Regions from separate parts of the Homo sapiens genome. Here all the other regions are linked to region 1. Evidence: promoter capture Hi-C in 16 types of primary human blood cells and fetal thymus (Javierre and others, 2016). All regions are on one chromosome and are shown on one strand. Each heading gives the region's core, a stretch centred on a gene start or on the middle of the fragment in contact. The rest is flanking DNA. Distances are from core to core; before and after follow the strand shown. Region 1 holds the start of ANKS3 (ankyrin repeat and sterile alpha motif domain containing 3). Region 2 overlaps UBN1 (ubinuclein 1). Region 3 overlaps PPL (periplakin).

Region 1 (2,777 bases), core at 219-2,718:
TGATCCTCTTGCCTCAGCCTCCCAAAGTGCTGGGATTACAGGCATGTGCCATCGCGCCTGGCTGACAGTTTGGAGTCACTAAGTGATTTTTTTTTTTTTTTGGAGTCACTACTCTGACCAGCCCCTGCATTTATATCTTAGAGTCTTAAAGGAGATGGTCCTGTTATTCAGGGGGCTGGGGAGCTTGAGCTTGAGAGCTGGGGGGTGAGGGTCCTCTAGAGCCAGTGTCAGGAGAACTCTGCAGCTCGAGAGGCCGCTGTGGCTTTGGCCCTGCAGTCAGTGCCCGTTCATCCCCAATCAGGGCAGCGGCAGGAGATGTGAATTGGGGGCTGCTTGCTTCCTCTGTACTTCTGGGAATAGGGCAGGTGCTTGGTGCACTCTGAACTGGGAGCAGCGGGTTGGGGACGCATCTGGTGCACACAGCCAGCGGGTGTTTTTTGTAACTAGAGCTCTGTTCCGCAATTCAGGGCACAGTATTTCTTAGGGCAACAGAATCGTCGGGATGAAGAGGGCCTCCAGAGACTCTGATAAACCCTTCAGGCGGACAAGACAATAGGGGAGGGAACGGCATTACCGGCAGAAGGAAGAGCATGTACAGTAGCTCAAAGGAATGAACCGCCCAACAGGTTTAAGGGAAGAAAGTGTCAGTTGCTGGACTCTCCGGTGAAAACGGACCAGACAATGCAGGGCCCTGAACGCCAAGTTGAGGAGCTCAGAGCATCCAGAAGGCGAAGGGGAGGCTCGGAGCCGCCTCTGAATAACGGCCTTCCGGCTCCGTCTCGGGGTGGGTTTCTCAGCTGCAGCCTGTTAGCCCCGCCACAGCCCCGCCCCGGTTCTCAGAGCCCCGCCCCCAGCCGGCCTGCCACGAGGCTGCCGGTTGTTATGGCAACCAGACGCCAACAGCCTCCCGGGTCGAGCTTTTAAATTTTAAAGCTGTGGAAGTGGAAAGCCCATCGCTCCTCCTCTCACCCACCCCCAGCCCGTATTTCCCCGCGTTTTGTTCAACTCCCTGCAGGCGCAGCAGGCCCGAGGCCCCTCACCTCAGGCCTCTGCCTCCACTCCCCGCGCTGTCCTGACAGCGCTATAAACAGCCTCCAGCGCGTCACTCCGCTCGCGTCCGCCCCTCGGGCCGCGCCGCAGGTACAGAGGCTGTCCCCTTCTTCAGCACTCTCCCTCTCAGCGGAGCTTTACATTACTAGACTGCCTCCGCCTTCCCCCCACCCCGCCCAGCTCCTCTTTCGGGCCTTTGCGCGTCCTGCCTCTCCTGCAATGGGATTGGTTCCCCTGGAGGGCGGGGACGGAGCAGGACAAACACCACTAGCTCATTGGCTACCGCGGGCATCAGACAGCGAGCCGGGAAGCTGACCGGAAGGTCCGGGTGCGGGACGTGTGCATTCCACGGCGCCCGGGAGCTGTCCCGGTGCCGACCCGCGAGCTTCCCGGCGTGCTCCGCGCCCTCCCGCAACTACTTCCGGGGCGGGTGCCGGGGGCGGTGCCCCGGCGAGGGAGCGTGGCGGCGAGCTGTTTGGGGGGGGTTGGCGACGGCAGCCCGAGGGCGGCGCAAGGCCTGAGGCCCAGCACAGGTGGGTTCCGCGGCGGCCCGGCCCCAGCACTTGCCGGCACCTGCAGCCCGCCTAGACCCGGCGCTCGGGCGTCCCGCGCTGCACTTGCTCGCCGCGTGACTGGAGGACCGAGCCCCCACATTTTCTTTATGTGGTTGTGGTGGGGGCACAGTAATGCCCTGTGCGCCGTAGCGTTCCTGTGGGGATGTGGCCGGGGGGCGTCGGGAAGCGTCACTGCTGTGAGTTACGGGTTTGTCGGCCAGGGACCCGCCCCGGGGCCAGTGAGCTACCTTTGCGATGCGGTTCCACGGGGCGAGAGGGGGTGCCTGGGTGCTTTCACAGACCTCCTCTGTGGGCGTGACAGTTACCACCAGCATCACATTTGTTAAGATTTTTAAAAATTTTTTAATTTTTGTGGGTACGTAGTAGGTGTATATATTTATGGCGTATATGAGAGATTTTGATACAGGCATGCAGTTCGTAATAATCACATGTAAAATGGGGGTCTCCATCCCTTCAAGCATTTATCCTTTGTGTTACAAACAATATGATTATACTCTTTGAATTATTTTTAAATGTGCAGCCGGGCGCGGTGGCTCACTCACGCCTGTAATCCTAGCACTTTGGGAGGCAAAGGCGGGCGGATCACCTGAAGTCAAGGATTTGAGACCAGCCTGGCCAACATGGGGACACTTCGTCTCTACTAAACATACGAAAACTAGGCTGGCATGGTGGCTCATACCTGTAATCTCAGCTACTCGGGAAGCTGAGGCAGGAGAATCGCTTGAACCCAGGAGGCGGAGGTTGCATTGAGCCGAGATCACGCCGCTGCACTCTAGCCTGGGTAACAGAGTGAGATTATGTCTCAAAAAAAATAATAATAAATAAATAAAATGTGCAATTAGATTATATTGACTATAGTCACCCTGTTGTGCGGTCAAATACTAGATCTTTTTTTTTTTTTTTTTTTTTTTGAGACGGAGTCTCGCTTTGTCGCCCAGGCTGGAGTGCAGTGGCTTGATCAAATACTAGATCTTATTCATTCTGTTTTTTTTGTATCCATTAAGCATCCCCACCCTCCACTACCCTTCCCAGCCTTGGTTACACTAGAAGTAACCATCCTTCTACTTTCTATGTCCATGAGTTCAGTTGTTTTGATTTTTAGATAACCACAAATAATTGAGAACATGCAATATTTATCTTTCTGTGCCTGGC
Region 2 (2,749 bases), core at 204-2,703, 130 kb before region 1:
ACCCCAGGATTCTCACTAGAACCCACTTCTCCCAATAACTTCTTTCCCCCTCAGGGCTTCAAAATAACACAGACAATTGTACACTCAAATCTAAACTAAGCCCTAAATCCTCTCATCTAAGCTCTGGACCAGAATTTCCAGTTATCTCTGAGAAATTTCCCAATTACAGTCAACGCCTGGTATAGGCAGGGGATTGGTTACAGGACCCCCGTATATACCAAAATCCAACTGCACAGTCAGCCCTGAGGAACCTGCCTATACAAAAAGTTAGCCCTCTATACACAGATTTAGCATCCCTCAAATCAACCCACATTTGGTTAGAAAACATCTGCGTGTAAGTGGATCCACGCAGTTAAACCCTGTGTTGTTCAAGGGTCAACTGCACTTCTGTGGATGGATGACCCTCTGGTTTGCAAACTCAACTTACACCAGACCCACTGGCTTCTGCTCTTCCCCTGTGTTCCCCACTTCTAATAATTGCACTCCAACCTTAAGACCGCCACTCCCTTCTTCAGAACCCTTCAGCAGCTCTTTCCAAGCCTGGTATCAAACCCAAACTCCTTCACATGGCATTTGGGGTCCTCCACGATCTGGCCCAGCCATCCACCAACTCGCCCATCTTCAGCTCTGCTCCCTGCCTTCTCTTAGGGCATCTTCCCCAGGAGGCCGGCGAAGCCTGTTGCCTCCAGTCTGCTTCCTATATGCCCCCCAAGAGCCTCTCTTTAACCCCTTAAGTCCGGCTATCTGGCCGTCCACACATCACAAAGCTTACTTCATTCTGCTCTGTACTACAGTCCATTGTCTGCGTATCTATCGGGTCCATTTATGTAACGAGCTCATGAAAGACAAGAATGGAACCTTGGCCCGGCGCGGTGGCTCACACCTGTAATCCTAACACATTGGGAGGCCAAGGTGGGCGGAACACGCGAGCTCAGGAGTTTCAGACCAGCTTGGGCACATGATGAGACCCTGTCTCTACTAAAAATACAAAAAAAAGCTGGGCATGGTGGTGCATGCCTGTGGTCCCAACTACTCTGGAGGCTGAGGTGGCAGGATCACTTGAGCCCTGGGCGTGGAGGTTGCAGTAAGGCAAGATCGTGCCACTGCACTCCAGCCTGGGTGACAGAGCAAGACCCTGTCTTAAAAAATAATAATAAAATAAAATATAGAACTGAGTCTTATTCATCAGTATATTTCCCATGGCTGCCTGTCACATAATATTTACTAAATGTTGACTGAGTGAATGAATCAACAAATGAAGATACTACTGTAAAACGGCACGCCACAGGAAGAAAAGCTTAACACCAAACAACCAAAACTAAGTCAGAAGAAAATGCGCAAAACTCAAGCTTCTACAGATCCCTTGGCTAGGTGAAAGCCCAGAGGGGTGAAATCCACAGACGAATAATGGAAAAAAAGGGCATGACTTTTCACCCAGCCATGTGCCAATTTCTTACACTCTTGGAAACATTCAGAATTCTACCTTAGCACTTGGAAGGTACTAGAATTATATTAGTCTGGGAAAAAATAAAACTGAACTTTTTTTGCTTAAGCTTACACTGCTAGTTTTAAGATCGAGAAGCACCCTTACATTAATTCAAACTAATTAACATGTATTTCACATGCCACACTTTCAGACCCATCTACAGCTTAAACTTCCAATCAAATTTTATCTTATTATTTTTTATTTTTTTATTTTAGTTTAGTTTTTGAGACGGAGTCTTGTTCTGTTGCCCAGGCTGGAGTGCAATGGCGTGATCTCAGCTCACTGCAACCTCCACCTCCCGGGTTCAAGTGATTCTCCTGCCTCAGCCTCCTGAGTAGCTGGGATTACAGGCACCCACCCCCATGTTCGGCTAATTTTTTGTATTTTTAGTAGAGATGGGGTTTCACCATGTTGGCCAGGCTGGTCTCAAACATCTGACCCCAAGTGATCCGCCCGCCTCAGCCACCCAAAATGCTGGGATTACAGGCTGAGCCACCATGCCCAGCATCTTATTTTATTGAGATGGTCTCACTCTGTCACCCATTCTGGAGTGCAGTGACGTGATCGCAGCTCATACAGCCTTGACCTCCCAGGCTCAAATAATCCTCCCGCCTCAGCTTCCCAAGCAGCTGGGACTACAGCTGCACGCAACCACGCCTGACTAATTTTTAGATTTTTTTTTCTCACTCTGTTACCCAGGCTGGTCTGGAACTCCTGGGCTCAGGTGATCCTCCCACCTCGGCCTCCCAAAGTACTGCGATTACAGGCATGAGCCACCGCGCCCTGCCAAATTTTCTGTTTAGATAGCCACTTGTACAATATTTCAGAAGCTTTCTATGTAATCTTTACGCAATCTTTAAAAATATTTTAAATAATATTATGTAATTTTAGAAAGTACTTTTCTGTAAACCTTTTGAATTGCATAGACAATATCTCTGAGGGTCTGGCTTTATACTGAAGAGTCGACTGCGGCATTTTAAAGTAAATCTAATTAAAAGAGCAATTGGATATATATCTGATAGTCTTCCAAAAATAAATGGGGTCCCTCACCCCTAAAAAGAGACACTCTTACCCCAGAAGTTGTGTGAATTAATCAATCCTAAGTTAACTAGTAAATGAGGTTAAACATCCCAATCATGCTGATTTATAAGAGTTCCAACAGCCTTTTAATGAGCTGTTTTATTTATTCTAAGAAAAGTCACCTGTAGCCTTTTAGCACCCAGCTCAAAATCTTATATACTGTATCTGTTTTTGCTGAGTAGG
Region 3 (2,700 bases), core at 28-2,527, 180 kb before region 1:
AACAGAAGGAGGCTGGGCATGGTGGCTCACACCTGTAATCCCAGCTACTCAAAAGGCTGAGGCAGCCGAATCACTTGACCCCAAGAAGTGGAGGTTGCAGCGAGCCAAGATGATACCACTGCACTTCCAGCCTGGGTGACAGAGTGAGACTCGGTCTCAAAACCACAGAGGCAGAGCTGGGTGATCTCTAAGGCTCCTTGACAACTAAAATCACAAACCTTTGTTCAGACTTATTCTGTGCCCGGCTCTATGCACAGTCCTTTGGTAGTGTAACCTCACTTCCATTCATAACCCCTGCCACCCTGGCCCCGGGAAAGGACTGTTACTCTAGTCCATCGGATTGGGAGACAGAGGCACAGATAGGCAAGGGAGCTGGGCCAAGTCACACAGCCACTAAGTGGCTGATGGGAGCCAAGATCTGAACCCACAGCTAACCCCAGGGCCAAAGTCTTAACTAACTCCCATTAGAGCATTTTCCAGAGTGGTCTGTCTGTGGTTCTGGGGGACGGGGGGCAGTAGACAAATGTGACAGGAGGGGACACAGAGACAGTGAGGGAGAGGGCCAGTCTGCTTTCAAGACTTTTTTTTCTTTTCTTGTTTTTTTTTTTCGAGATGGAGTCTCGCTCTGTTACCCAGGCTGGAGTGCAGTGGTGCAATCTCAGCTCACTGCCACCTCCACCTCCCAGGTTCAAGCAGTTCTCCTGCCTCAGCCTCCCGAGTAGCTGGGACTACAGGCGCATGCCACCACACCTAGCTAATTTTTGTATTTTTAGTAGAGATGGGGTTTCACCATGTTGGCCAGGCTGGTCTCAAACTCCTGATCTCAGGTGATTCGCCCGCCTTGGCCTCCCAAAGTGCTGGGATTACAGGTATGAGCCACCACACCGGGCCTCAAGTCTCTTTCAGGCGCTCTGAGAAGATCAGGAGAAAGGCTGGGCCTGACGCCACCACGGCTGTCACACCTCCTGACTTGTAACAGCGGGCAGCCCAGTGTCACCACGGAACCCAGTGCCACTGCGTTCCCATGAAATTTATTTTGGCAGCTAATTCACTCATGGTGAGGGCTTCTGATTTCTGATTAAAATGGGGAGAGAAGTTACCTTTGTAAACACATTTAACTCTAAAATAAAACGAGTAGGTTGAAAGAAAAATATCAGGTAATTAAAAATAAGACTGCTCACACAAAAGCTTGTTCCCGAACGTTCATAGCAGCGTGATTCTCACGATGGCCCAAAGGTGGAAACGGCCCAGATGGTTGTCAGCTGTTGAATGAATAAGCAAAATGTGAAGTAGCCACGTGATGGAATATTATTCAGCCATAAAAAGAATGAAGTTCTAATAGATGCTGCAATATGCACAAAGCTTGAAAACATTATGCTGAGAGAAGGCAGACGCAAAAGGCCACGTGTTGTGTGATTCTATTTATATGAAATGTCCAGAATAGGCAAATCCATAGAGAGAAAAAGTAAATTCCTGGTTGCCAGGGGCTGGAGCGGGTGGGGAATAGGGAGTGACAGCTTGTGGGTGTGGAGCTTTGGGGTGATAAAAATGTCTGGAATGAGATAGTGGTGATGGTTGCACGATTCTGAATGTGTAGTACTAAAAGCCAGTGACTGTGTATTTTAAACAGGTGAATTTTACGGTATGTGAGTTATCTCCCAATTTTTCAAATATGGTGCGTTTTGCCAACATGGCAAAATAGAAGCATTAGAAGCTGGGTGTGCTGGTGGTGCCAGTGGTCCCAGCTACTCAGGAGGTGGAGGTAGGAGGATTGCTTGAGCTCAGGAGTTCGAGGCTATAGTGAACTATGATCACGCCACTGCACTCCAGTCTGGGTGACAGAGTGAGACCCTATCTCTCACAAAAAAATATGTAGTCGGGGCCTGGTGGCTGACATCTGTAATCCCAGCACTTTGGGAGTCCAAGGTGGACGAATTGCTTGAGCTCAGGAGTTCGAGACCAGCCTGGGTGACATGGTGAAACCCCTTCTCTACCAAAAGAAATGTAAAAGTTATGCAGGAGTGGTGGCATGTGCCTGTAGTCCCAGCTACTTGGGAGGCTGGGCTAGGAGGATTGCTTGAGCCTGGGAGATAGAGGCTGCAGTGAGCCATGACTGTGCCGCTACACCCCAGCCTGGGCAAGAGTGTGAGACTCCGTCTCAATAAAATGAATGAATGAATGAATGAATGAACGAATGAATGAATAAAAATAAAAAATAGAAGCATTAGAGAGAATGATCAAAGTGGAGGCTGGGCGGGCGCGGTGGCTCACGCCTGTAATCCCAGCACTTTGGGAGGCCAAGATAGGTGGATCACTTGAGGTCAGGAGTTCAAGACCAGCCTGGCCAACATGGTGGAACCCCATCTCCACTAAAAATACAAAAATTAGCCAGGCTTGGTGGTGCATGCTTGTAATCTCAGCTACTGGGGAGGCTGAGGCATGAGAATCATTTGAACCCAGGAAGTGGAGGTTGCAGTAAGCTGAGATCACGCCACTGCACTTTAGCCTGGGTGACAGAGCAAGACTCCATCTCAAAAAAAAAAAAAAAAAAAAAAAGGAGGCTGACCGCCTGCCAGGCGCTGCCTTGTCTCTGTGGCTTTAGTGATGTTGCCCTATGGGAACAGCCCAACTACCTCAAAGGCTCTGTGGGCAGCTCCTGCTCAGAGCGTGGGGCCGGGGCCAGCCAGAGGATGGGGTGCT

The links. Contacts are between HindIII fragments. The CHiCAGO score rates a contact against its expected background, and 5 or more counts as called.
Region 2: a contact is called between a fragment that was not itself captured here and the fragment with the promoter of ANKS3 in region 1, in 1 of 17 cell types (M1 macrophages). The highest score is 5.1, in M1 macrophages.
Region 3: a fragment that was not itself captured here is called in contact with the fragment with the promoter of ANKS3 in region 1 in 2 of 17 cell types (erythroblasts and M2 macrophages); the score reaches 5.6 in erythroblasts.

The regions. Positions count from the first base shown.
Region 1 is chr16:4,732,962-4,735,738 of GRCh38, reverse strand. It overlaps ANKS3 (ankyrin repeat and sterile alpha motif domain containing 3), which reads left to right and starts at 1,468. Exons shown (of 18, transcript NM_133450.4): 1 at 1,468-1,801. It overlaps DNAAF8 (dynein axonemal assembly factor 8), which reads right to left and starts at 1,202. Exons shown (of 10, transcript NM_139170.3): 1 at 1,041-1,202. RefSeq lists silencers at 1,343-1,572, 1,623-1,682. The HindIII fragment of the contact is 25,292 bases long and covers 1-2,777 here.
Region 2 is chr16:4,864,924-4,867,672 of GRCh38, reverse strand. All of the region lies in intron 7 of UBN1 (ubinuclein 1), which reads right to left. Among named protein-coding and RNA genes, the nearest start is that of UBN1, 19 kb to the right of the region's middle. The HindIII fragment of the contact is 204 bases long and covers 1,352-1,555 here.
Region 3 is chr16:4,911,013-4,913,712 of GRCh38, reverse strand. The region is part of intron 1 of PPL (periplakin); the gene reads left to right. LOC124903637 (a long non-coding RNA gene) reads right to left here. Exons shown (of 3, transcript XR_007064965.1): 2 at 1,182-1,262. Among named protein-coding and RNA genes, the nearest start is that of PPL, 25 kb to the left of the region's middle. The HindIII fragment of the contact is 174 bases long and covers 1,191-1,364 here.